Linked DNA regions of Homo sapiens: all the other regions are linked to region 2. Evidence: promoter capture Hi-C in 16 types of primary human blood cells and fetal thymus (Javierre and others, 2016). All regions are on one chromosome and are shown on one strand. The core of a region is centred on a gene start or on the middle of the fragment in contact, and the rest is flanking DNA. Distances in the headings are between cores, read along the strand shown. Region 1 overlaps LOC105374211 (a long non-coding RNA gene). Region 2 holds the start of GPR160 (G protein-coupled receptor 160). Region 3 has its middle 14 kb from the start of RPL22L1.

Evidence for each region. The method cuts DNA at HindIII sites, captures the fragments that hold promoters and counts their contacts. A CHiCAGO score of 5 or more calls a contact.
Region 1: a contact is called between a fragment that was not itself captured here and the fragment with the promoter of GPR160 in region 2, in 2 of 17 cell types (total B cells and fetal thymus). The highest score is 9.6, in total B cells.
Region 3: a contact is called between a fragment that was not itself captured here and the fragment with the promoter of GPR160 in region 2, in 1 of 17 cell types (total B cells). The highest score is 5.1, in total B cells.

Annotation. Positions count from the first base shown.
Region 1 is chr3:170,808,061-170,812,208 of GRCh38, forward strand. All of the region lies in intron 2 of LOC105374211 (a long non-coding RNA gene), which reads left to right. Among named protein-coding and RNA genes, the nearest start is that of RPL22L1, 60 kb to the right of the region's middle. The HindIII fragment of the contact is 277 bases long and covers 2,387-2,663 here.
Region 2 is chr3:170,036,502-170,040,449 of GRCh38, forward strand. It overlaps GPR160 (G protein-coupled receptor 160), which reads left to right and starts at 1,494. Exons shown (of 4, transcript NM_014373.3): 1 at 1,494-1,714; 2 at 2,414-2,542. RefSeq lists silencers at 1,469-1,948, 2,259-2,308, 2,469-2,518 and an enhancer at 2,374-2,873. The HindIII fragment of the contact is 12,490 bases long and covers 1-3,948 here.
Region 3 is chr3:170,854,256-170,858,686 of GRCh38, forward strand. No RefSeq gene overlaps it. Among named protein-coding and RNA genes, the nearest start is that of RPL22L1, 14 kb to the right of the region's middle. The HindIII fragment of the contact is 1,113 bases long and covers 1,015-2,127 here.

The DNA.
Region 1 (4,148 bases), core at 1,275-3,774, 770 kb after region 2:
GAGGTGGTGGTGGGATTTGTTATTGTGATGACATTCCCAAACTATAGATCCTAGGAAGAGAACAAAATTAAATCAGAGTGTCTGATATGGTTTGGCTATGGCCCCACCCAGTTCTCATCTTGAGTTGTAATTCCCATAATCCCCACATGTTGTGGGAGCGACCCGGTGGGAGGCAATTGAATCACGGGGGTGATTTCCTCCATGCTGTTCTCATGATAGTGAGGGAGTTCTCATGAGATCTGATGGTTTTACAAATGTCTGGTATTTCCCCTGCTGGCACTCATTCTCTCTCTTGCTGCCCTGTGAAGAGGTGCCTTCCACCATGATTATAAGTTTCCCGAGGGCTCCCCAGCCATGCGGAACTGTGAATCAATTAAACCTCATGTCTTTATAAATTACCCAGTCTTGGGTATTTCTTCATAGCAGTGTGAGAACGAACTAATACAGTGTCTCTGTAGCAAATTAACAAATTGAAAAAGTAAACAAAAACAAAAAAACCTATATTTAATCTAGTGGAGAAGAAAAGAAGCCATGTGCATAAATCACTAGCCCTTTTTCAAGTGCAGTGTCTTGGAGGATCCTAGAGACAGACTTCCTGGGTTCAAACCCTGGTTCTGCTGTGTATCAGTCTTGTGGCCTTGGGCAAGTTATTTAACCTCTCTAGGCCTCAATTTCCATCTACAGATAATGTAAAGTACTAGTATTAATCCATAGGCTTATTTTAAGGGTTAAATAGAATAACATATTCAGGACACACATATATGCCTGGCACATAATAAACATTTGTACATATTAGTTATTATTAAGGTGAATTGGGTTTGAGAGATTGGTTTGTTTAAACAAAGATAATTAAAAGCTACTTGAAGGTAGAATAAAAGAGCTGTATGTTTGTGAGGTATTATGGGCTTAACAAAGTGCCTGGCACCACGTAAAAAGAACAAAGATATTATAACTACCAAGACATAGCCAAAAACTCAGTTGGCTGGAAGAGAGTGCTAAAAAGCTCTGTCCCTTATGAGCACAGCTGCGGGACTGCAAGGGCGTACGGTTGAGAGTGCGCGATAGGTGAGCGAATTATGTCAACCATATAAAACCTACCTGCGCTAATGGTAGGACAACAATATTGTTCTAGTTTGCAAAGATCAGCATATTCTCCAGACAGAGAACACTGCTAAAAAGACAGTAGCATAATGCATCTCTCTGGAATACACACATACAACCCTCTCCTCCACGTCCCAACCAAGGTAATCAAGTTCTTTCATTGTAAAGAGTGCAATGAAAATGCCAGAGGCATCATCAAATTGTGAATCATATAATGCCAAAAGGTACCCAGGGATGACCTCACCTAGCCCCATTTGTGGGAGGAGGAAATGGGGGTGGGTGGAGGTTGCTGACAGAACAGTTGTCCCGAGGCCACACAGCCAGTGATCGGCAGAGCTGGACTAAGAAGGCTTACTGATTCTAACTCTTCGCTGTGCTACACTGTCTCCCATTCCCACACCCATCTCCACCCACCTCAAAATCTTAAACCAGATGGCAAATCCAGCTTCTCCTGGACCCCTAGAAGATACTCCTTCTCTGAGCTGTCACATCCTCGGGGCCTTCTAACGCCTTGTTCACTGCTGCCACCTAGGGAATTTCAGTGAGTTTTCCTCCTTAGGCTGTTGCCTTAGGTGCTCAACAATGGCCATGCACCTCCGTCCTATTCAAGGCCTATCTCCTTAATTAATCATCCAAGTCACTTCATGCTCAGCTCACCAATTAGCAGAGCTATTCACAGTGCAGGCATTCAGATGATACACATCTGACCTTGCTGATGAACACATCTTTTTGTTTGTTCTTTGAAATATTGTTAGGGAACTACTCAAATGCTTTGGGTTTAAAAATATTACTCCAATAATACTGAGTAGTTGCTGAGTTCTAGTTTAATATCTGATTCTTTTCAAGGTGCTGGTGAGAAGGAGCTCATCTACTTCATCCCCAGCATTGCAAGCAGGAGAATATCAGACCTATTTACTCAGGTTCAATGTGTCCAGATCTATTAACTGAAGTTCAGTGTTAGTCATACTTCCACTTTCCCCTGACCACTCCCTCTTTCCTCATTTTATAGCCAGATGCTAGCGTTTAGCAATAAAGTAGCCATTCATTCCCTCAACCTTAATTACTTGATAGTATCCATTGAAACAGAAACACACATGAACTAAATCCCTAGTGATGAAGTCCATTGCTTGACCATAAAAATGATAAAACAGACTCCTGACAAACAATAACAGTCCAGGTTGACTTCCTATGCAATTAAAACCAGACTCCTGGAATTTCCAATTCAAGAACAGAATACATGGAAATAATCAGAGTTGATTATTTTTCTAAGCAGGGAAGGTTAGAAAGCTTCCTGTTTTAGAATGTAAGCACTCTTTTCCAGCTTCATCATTATACCATGCCACATAAAGATATGACTATACCCCTTTTCACTATTCTTTCAGTTTTTAAAGGTCTGATTAGTAGTACTATAGCCCTGAGTATTTCTCCATAGATTCAATTATCTCCCTATGCACAGTATAGCATAGTGGTTTAAATACTCGGGCTTAGGGGCAATTAGACCTAGGTTCCAAACCAGGCTCTACTTGGGTGTGTAATCTTGCAAAAATTTCTTAACATTCCTAAGCTTCAGGTGCCTCATCTATGAAATGGCAGTAAAAATACTAACTTCACGGTAAATTTTCTGTGAGAATTGAAGATATAAAAGTTTGGTGTTGAGCACATTGCTTGGCCTATAGTAAGTAATCAGTAAAAGTTAGCTGGTATTGTAATTATCATCGTCATCATTCATATAACCATTGCCAATGTAAGATCCTCAATTACAAGGAGAAGCCAGAGAAAAGGGAAGGAGATTTCAAGTAGTTCTGGTAGACAGTGGCTTTGTAGCTAGGACTAAAAAATACATTCAATTTTAAGTCAGAATGCCTGAATTTAAATCCCAGATCTATATGAAGGTACTTAGCTTCTCTGGTCCTCGGTTTCCTTATCTGTAAAATGGAGGTGGTAATAGCAACTGGCAGATTGTTGTAAAAATTAAATGAGATAATGACACTGAACGTTTCAAGCCCAACACCTGCCCCAATGGCAGGCAAGCTTTCTTGCTTTTGCCTAATGAATATTTTAGGGCCCTTGCCCATGGTCTAACTTCTGCTTCTGACTGTCACCTCCTGCAGATGAGATGAGGGTGGCAAATCTGGATGCAGGACGCTCTGGGAGAACCTGGCAATCACACTTTCAATCTTTTGATCCGATAATCCCAAATACAAAGAAGAAGGCCCTCAGCAGTTCTCTATTAGGTATAAAAGGGAAGAAAGCCAGTTACAATGGCTGGAAGACCTTAGAGGAAAGGAGGCCCCGGGAACATGGGGACTAACAGCAAATCCTGGTACTGGCCACAAGCCACAAATTTGTGTAGGGGTAGGGAAGAGGATAGGGGATGGCTGGAGCCTGAGACCTGGTGTTTCCTATGATCAGTGCACCTAGCTTGATGACTCATGTTCTTCTAGCTTTTGGCAGCCTAGACTGGTATGTCACTGAAATTTAAAAGCTCCCTGAAATATAGGCAGCATTTTCTCTCCAGCTGTATTTTGAAAAGATGACACAATTTGGATGCAACCTTGTTTTCCAACCTGAAGCAATATTCAGACAGTGTGTTGATGTTTTTAAGTCAGTAGGTGTGTCTGTTTAGTATGTGTGTGCATGCGCGTAAAACGCTCTCCCTCGTGATGCAAAACATGCCCTTTTTCTAATGCCCACGAAAGAAAGTTATCTTAAAGTGAACAATTATTTGTTTGGGATGTCACACTCCAGAACTCTCCACCAGCTAGTCTATTGGGCCCGCTAGCTTCACAGAAGTCAAGGCCAGGTTAATGCATACTATATTATTAGCGAAATAACTAGGTCTTTAACACCTCTCCCTCCAAAAAACAAACACACAAAACAGCTTTAACTTTCATCCCTCTCCAATACCACACTGAATGCCCCACCCTAAGCCATAGCCCTATAACCTCCTCCTCCCCTCTCCTCTTCTGAATGAGAAACCATGAGTGCCCCCTAGTGGTTCAATGGCCGTAATTGCACTCCCCAGCTTTTTGTTTGCCTAATTACTA
Region 2 (3,948 bases), core at 244-2,743:
GGCTTGAACCTATGTGCTCTGACTACAGAGTGAATGGGAAGGACTAAGGAGAATTGCCTCCTTGGGAACTCCATGTAGCTCCTGGATTTTGTGATTGAAATAGCATTTAAAAAAAAAAAAAGACTGACATTGTGGAGAGATACAAACGTGTATGGACATGGTCATCTTTAATCTCTAACTGCTATGACACTCAGAGAGGTTGAGAGGCTCAGGACACTCCCCTTGTTCAAGGCTCTGCGTGAAGAGGAGAAGGAAGAAATTGTGCAATATTTTATTTTATTTTATTTGTTTCAGATGAAGTCTGTCTCTGTTGCCCAGGCTGGAGTGTAATGGCGTGATCTTGGTTCACTGCAACCTCTGCCTCCTGGGTTCAAGTCATTCTCCTGCCTCAGCCTCCCAAGTAGCTGGGACTACAGGCATGTGCCATTACGCCCAACTAATTTTTGTATTTTTAGTAGAGGCAGGGTTTCACCATGTTGGCCAGGCTGGTCTTGAACTCGTGACCTCAAGTGATCCACCCGCCTCGGCCTCCCAAAGTGCTGGGATTACAGGCTTGAGCCACTGCGCTGGCCTAATTGTTCGATATTTTAAATGTTTAAATGACCGGCAAGTCGTAGGTGCTCAACAAATATTTGTTGAATGACAACAAATTAGCACTGTTGACACAAAAAAGGCAATGCAATATATGGGCTATTTAATATTTGCAGATTTTTATTTAAAAATCTGAATTCACAGTACACTGCAGGCGGTTGCTTAGAAGCATACAAGTTTCAAGAAGTTCTGTCACCCTGTGTATACTCTTTTTTTTTTTTTTTTTTTTTTTTTTTTTTTTTTTTGATACGGAGTCTTGCTGTTGCTGCCCAGGCTGGAGTGCAGTGGTGCGGTCTTAGCTCACTGCAACCTCCGCCTCCTGGGTTCAAGCGATTCTCGTGCCTCAGCTTCCCAAATAGCTGGGATTACAGGTGCGTGCCACCAAGCCCGGCTAATTTTTGTATTTTTAGTAGACATGGGGACCAACGTGGACCATGTTGGCCAGGCTGGTCTCAAACTCCTGACCTCAAGTGATCCGCCCACCTTGACCTCCCAAAGTGCTAGGATTACAGGCATGAGCCACCGCCTGGCCACCCTGTGTAAACTCTTATCTGGAGACAACTGCCAAGTTTACATTTGCAGAGGTAAGGGAAGGAGAGGCCCTGACCCAGTGGCCCCCGCTCGCCCGCCTGCTGGGGAGATGGGGAGCTCCTAGGACAGGGGCCGGGTCCTCAAGATGTGGCATGAGGAAGGGGGTCTCACTGAGCCCCCAAGCGGCTCCCGCACTGCGCACCCCTGGCTGCGTCCCTCTGCCAGCCTCAACTCAGCCCTCTCCTAGCCGGCGGGGGGTGACAGTCTCTGTGATATCTTTCCGTCCCGCCGGCAGGCGGCGCCCTCCGGCCCTTGTTTCGTTGGGCCCGGACGGGACGTGCGCGCTCAAAGGTTGCCCGTCTCTGACGCCCGCATTTCCTGGTCTGGAGCCGGCTGAGCCACAGCAGGGTCGCCGCGGGGTCCCGGGGCCGTGCTCCCCTGCCCCTCCCGGGAGCGCGCGGGGCGGGGCGGGGCGGGGCGGGACCAGGCGGGCGAGCTGGGCCCTCGCCCCTCCCTCGGGCGGTCACCTGGGCACGGGCGCTGCAGGTGTCGGGGCCTCAACCTTGCGGAGCCGACAGCCATCGATCCTCGGGTGAGTGCGGGCGCAGGTGGAGGGCGCCCGGCGCTCTCGCCACCGGCGTCCCAGCCTCGGGGCGGCGAACGGTCCCCGCGCCGCTCCCAGCCTCCCTGGCCGGGCGTTCAGCGCGCCTGGGAGGGGAAGGAATTTCCTTTGCAGGAACTCAGGGGCTGGGGGTTCTCTGCTACTTAAGAGATCCAGGAGTGGAGCCCGGACGCCCGAGCCTTCCTGCTTCGGGATGGGGATTACCGCGGAGCCTTAGCAACTGGGGTCTGTCGTGGGTTTGAGGGCAGGGGGTCTGGGGAATGGGCGTGTCCCGCACCCAGAGACTCGCCACCCTCTCTCCAGGGGAGATGCTTTTTAAACATGACAAACCCAGCAAGGTTATAGAAATGGGTGTATGCAACTCTTCGCTCTTTCCTGGCGCCCAGAGGTGAATAGTCTCACACACACGCGCGCGCGCGCGCGTGCGTGCATTCATTGGGGCCGACTTTGCCTCCCCTCCCCTGGCCTCGAGCGTTGGGGACGGCGCCCCCGCCCGCGCCCGCCACTGGGATTAAGCCCCAGGGCCTTGCCCGGCTATTTGTTTTCCGAGGCCGTTGCGTCCGGGTAGGTTCCTGGATGACCATCCTGGCTGGCTCAAAATTCCCTCTAGATTACCTGCGACCACCCCCAGGAACCCGGAGACTGAAACTCCTTTTCTCACCTGCGCAGGTGGCCTCGAGGTGGTGGCAGGGCCGCCCCCTGCAGTCCGGAGACGAACGCACGGACCGGGCCTCCGGAGGCAGGTTCGGCTGGAAGGAACCGCTCTCGCTTCGTCCTACACTTGCGCAAATGTCTCCGGTAAGGGGAAGTGTCGCTTAAATCCCAGAGATAACCCCCACCGAGAAGCATCACAAAAGACATGAACGAGTGTTTAGCTCTCAGGATTGTTATTGCTTCGAGTGAAATGGTTTCTTGTGTGCTTTTGTGCATTTATATATAAATATAAACATATATGTATACATTTGACAAGCTCTAAGACCGGCACTTGTGATATCTCCAGAATAGAGTTATTATAGTTATTTGGAAATTGTCAGTGAGGATCAGCTTGGTTGCTATGCGAATTGCAGGGAGGAGGACCTGTGTGCAGTTTCAAAACGATTTAAGAGAAATTCGGTGGCAATACAAGGTGTGGACGTTGGTTGGATCCTGATTTGATGAATGTTTTTTAAAATGGAGATGATGCCCGAGTGCGGTGGCTCACACCTGTAATCCCAGCACTTTGGGAGGCCGAGGTGGGTGGATCACCTGAGGTCAGGGGTTCGAGACCAGCCTGGCCAACATGGTGAAACCCTTCTCTACTAAAAATACAAAAATTAGCTGGGTGTGGTGACACGCGCCTGTAATCCCGGCTACTCGGGAAGGCTGAGGTAGGAGAATCGCTTGAACCCGGGAGGCGGAGGTTGCAGTAAGCCGAGATGGCGCCACTGCACTCCAGCCTGGGAGGCAGAGCGAGACTCCGTCTCAAAATAAATAAATAAATAAGGAGACGATGAAGGACATTTCTACTGATTATTTGATGGTATCAAGGAAATTATAATAGTTCTGTTTAGTTACTTTTGGTAACGGTATCCTGATTAAGGTTTTTAAAATCCCTGTAGAGACACAGACTGAAGTTGAAATACAGCTTTGGGATTTGCTTCAGAATTATTCAGTTTTAGATGCTAGCAGAGAAGGGAGGGGAACAAGATGAGAGGAGATTGTTCATGGATTGTTAATAGTTGAAGCTGGGAAGAACACATGGACACAGGCAGGGGAACTTCAGGCACGGGGGCCTGTCGGAGGGTGGGGGGAAAGGGGAGGGAGAGCACTAGGACAAATACCTAATGCATGCAGGGCTTAAAACCTAGATGACGGGTTGATAGGTGCAGCAAAACACCATGGCACATGTATACCTATTAACAAACCTGCACATTCAGCACCTGTATCCCAGAACTTAAAGTAAAACAAAAATAAAAATAGTTGAAGCTGGATGATGGTTATGGAAGTCCTTATGCTATTGTTTCAGTATTTGTGTGTGTTTGGCATTTTCCTTTAAACAGAACACCACCACTTGTGGAGCTTTTTTGCATAAGGTAGGTTTGGCACTGCAGCCGAGTCTAGATGCAAGGTCTTCCGCAGACGCTCGTTCTTTGTAAATTGGGTGTCAAGGCTGCTTCTCCAGACTCGGTCATAAAAAGTTTTTTTCTCCCTACTGGAGGTGCCGA
Region 3 (4,431 bases), core at 321-2,820, 820 kb after region 2:
CTTCCATGCTGTTTCTTGAAGGCAGTAGGCCGTCTCCTGTGACTGGCCTTCTTACAATAAAACTGTGCGTCAGAGAGCCCTCTGTTAAGCCAGTTTGTGGTTCTCCAGAAGAGGAAAAAAGAAGCTTGGTTCTCTTCAAAAGCTAGATTATTCTTAGGCTTGGTTCTCCTAAGGAGCCAGCTGAATGTGCATCACTGTGAGAAAAGATTGCCTGGCAGGGAGAAATTTAGAAACATTTTTTTACACTAAAGCATTTACAGAGCATGAGCATTGAAGCCAGAGAGATCTGAATTTAAATTCCAATTTGGAACTTATTAGCTGTGTGGCCGTAGACCGACTGTTTAGCACTCTAAGCCCTTGGTTTTCTGATTTGTAAAAGGGGACTAATAACTAGCTTGAAGGGTAGCTGTGGAAATTAAATGAGATGTAGTATGTAAAGATTCCAAAACAGATGCCTTCGATGAGTAGTAGCCACTATCACCATTCCTCCTCAGCCTGGAATTCTCTCCCTCTTCTTCTCTGCCCCATCAATTCCCATTCTTCCTTAAAGAGAAGTCAGGGTAAGCCACCTCCTGCAGAAGGCCTTCTTGGATTCCTTTTCCCACTCATTATGGTATTGGTGCTTCTAAAGCATTTTGTAATATCTCTATTACTGCATGAACCACACTTACCTAAAGTCATTTGTACCCACATTTGCTCCCCTCGTTAGAACTGGGATTTCCTTGAGTGCAGAGAGTATATATAACTCACCCATCATCTCCCATGACTGCGACTGCCAAGGCAGAAATCATTGACCATATATTTGTGACATGTATGGAATCTGTAATTCACACCTCCCCATCTCAGAGAAAGAGGGAGAGAGGAGTTGCAGTGTTCCCTCCCTTGGGAGAAAACATATCTATTCCATCATAATTGAGATAGCAGATCATGATTCCCAGTTTGGCTCATTAACTCATAGGATTTTAGGACAGAAAAAAAAAGCCTTATCATGGGGGAAGTATGTTACTCTCAAGAAGCTTGTGTGTATCATGAGGTCAGGAGACCGAGACCATCCTGGCCAACCTGGTGAAACCCTATCTCTACTAAAATACAAAAAATTAGCCAGGTGTGGTGGTGTGGGCCTGTAATCCCAGCTACTCAGGAGGCTGAGGCAGGAGAATCGCTTGAACCTGGGAGGCGGAAGTTGCAGTGAGCCGAGATTGCGCCACTGCACCCCAGCCTGGCGACACAGCAAGACTCCGTCTCAAAAAAAAAAAAAAAAAAAAAAAAAAAAAGGTATATCCAATATTATGAGTTTATAGTGGGAAAATTATCCCAAAAATCTTACTTTGTTTTGTTTCAGAATAGAAAGCCCCAAAATACCTTGGTTGGTGGGGATATTTATGCATCAGTTATATCACAGGGTGGCAATTGGAACTGGGAACAAGGAACATGAGAAATATCTGTGTTTATCAAAAGGAAGCAGGTGTTACTAAAGCCCGAGAAATGCTGACCTATTTTTAACCACTTCTTTATATACAGAAGGGGAAACTGAGGCCCAGAGGGTGAAGAGATGTGTCCAAGGTCACAAAGCTAGTAGGCAACAGAGAGGCAGGATGTGTGACATGGCCCCGTGTGTGGGAGGAGCACTGGGTGAGGAGTGAGAGGTGGGTGCCATGGTGTGACCATGGGCAAGCCAGTAAACCTGAGACCTGGTTTTTTCATCTGAAAAATGGGAAGATAATATTGTGCCACAGAGGGCTGTTAAGGGATCAAAAGAAAAGAGAAAGCCATTTGTAAATGCAACACATTGTTTAAAACTGGCCTTCCTGGCATTTTAATCATCCAGCTTGTAAAAGAGCACACACTGAAGCTATATATCTAGACTCCAGTCCCTTCAGCATGACCACATACAAGGGTTTCCAGACAGTAAGTAGGAAAACCTATGCTAAGCAAAACTTCCTGGGAACTTTTTCATCAGGGGTAATGGTATAGGTGGGTAGTCACATGGGAAAAAGGTATAATTGGATCCACTTCTCAAATTGTAAACCAGGATAAATTCCAAATAGAATAGAGACCTACATTTTTTTAAGATGAAAATATGTAAGTACTAGCAGAAAACATAAATGAATTCTTGATAACGGGGAAAGCTTTTCTAACCATGGCAATAAGAAAAAAGTTAATTGATTTAATTACATAAAAATAAAAATAATGCTTCTATAGCAACAACTACAACAAAACAAAATGAAAACTAGTAATAAAACAAAAGAAAAATAGCAGCTGGGTATGGTGGCTCACACCTGCAATAATAGCACTTTGGGAGGCTCAGGCAGGAGGATTGTTTGAACTCAGGAATTCAAGACCAGCCTGAGCAATATAGCAAGACCCCATCTCTACCCAAATTTTTTAAAAAATGAGCCAGGTAGTGGTGTGTGCCTGTAGTCTCAGCTACTCAGGAGACTGAGGTGGGAGGATGGCTTGAATCTACGAAGTCAAGGACGCAGTGAGCCATGATCCAGCCTAGGCAACAGAGCAAGGGCTTGTCTCAAAAAAAAGTTAAAAAACAAAAATACCATAAGTAGGGGAAAAAGACAAATGAGAAGCTGAAAAAAGAAATTGTAATTTACATCACACACAAGGAGTTAATAGCCTTAACATAGAGGGAGCTTCTAAAAGTAAAAAATTAAAAATAAAAACAAGAATTCCACAGATATATATTAGAGATATAAACAGGCAGCTCACAGAGAAAGATATGCAAATGACCCTTATTGACATTCAACCTCACTCACAAATACAATGCAAAGGAAAATTACCCTGAAAACCAGGTCTCACCTGTCAGTTAAGCCTCAAATTGGACAAGGTTATCTCTTGGTGTGTCTACAGGAAAACAGATTTCACAGATTGCTGGTGGGAAGGCTAGTGGGAGAGCAAAATGCTACAACCCCTGTAAAGGGAAATTCAGCAATATCTAGAAATTACACATTCATTTATCTTTTGACCTGTAAGTCTCAGGTTTACAACTCCTCTCTAGGGGCTGGGCACGGTGGCTCATACCTGTAATCCCAGCACTTTGGGAGGCCAAGGCGGGTGGATCACAGGTTCAGGAGTTCGAGGCCAGCCTGGCCAATATAGTGAAACCCCTTCTCTACTAAAAATACAAAAATTAGCCGGGTGTGGTGGCAGGAGCTGGTAGTCCCAGCTACCCAGGAGGCTGAGGCAGGAGAATTGCTTGAACCCAGGAGGCAGAGGTTGCAGTGAACTGAGATTGTACCACTGCACTCCAGCCTGGGTAACAGAGCGAGACTCTGTCTCAAAAAAAAAAAAAAGACAGAGAAACTAGACTTTTCTAAATATACTTTGTTTTGTAGATTGGACTTTAGAATCCTGTAAATATTTTACAGAATTATAAAAAACAAAGTGGGCTTAAGCAAACTTTTTAATCAAAAGCAAAATGAAACAAATGACTCTGTGTATCAAGCTTGTTCTACGCCCACACAGAGATGAATCATTTCTAGTGACTTTAAAACACGAAACTTTGTTCATTTCTAGTGGGATATACCATAAGGACAAAAAGAACTGCAAAACAATCTTAAGCTGTAAAGTCATTATATTATAGGTAGTTTTGTTGGTATTATTTTATTGAAACTATTATGTGTATATTGTGAGATAAAGCAAATGAGCATTTGTGTTGGTGTCATTGAGAACTGGAACTTTCAGCATGGGAAAAAAGAGATATGGTCATACAATTGATGAAATAAAAACTCTTTTATCCTGATTTTGAATTGGAAGCATCAGAATAAACATATCATTTCCTCTTAAGAACAAAAATGTATTCCTTCACTCTGTCCACTCAAAAGGCCTAGAAACAAACACCACCCCAGTAATGACAAGCATCTCCAGCACCTAGAAAATAGTCCAGAGCTCCTTGTAGAAATGGATGACTCCTGGCCAGGCACACTGGCTGACCCCTGTAATCCCAGCACTTTGGGAGGCCAAGGTAGGAGGATCACTTGAAGTCAGGAGTTCAAGCCCAGCCTGGCCAACATGGCGAAACCACGTCTCTACTAAAAATACAAAAGTTAGCCAGGCATGGTGGCACATGCCTGTAGTCCCAGATACTCAGGAGGCTGAGGCAGGAGAATCACTTGAACCTGGGAGGCGGAGGTTGCAGTGAGCCAAGATCGCGCCACTGCACTTAGCCTGGGTGATAGAGCAAGACTCTGTCTCAAAAAAACAAGCAAACAACAACAACAAAAAAACGGATGACTCCAGATCTGAGGCAGGAAATTTGGAAGAGCCTAGCACATCCTATTATACCAGAAACCAAATAAGCAATAAAATCCAAATAAGATCATGCCAAAAGGATACAAGAGTCAACCTGAAGAGGCTCCTATTGGCTCAGTATGAGACCATTTGCATATTAGTAAGTGTAACTACCAAAACTAATAAAAC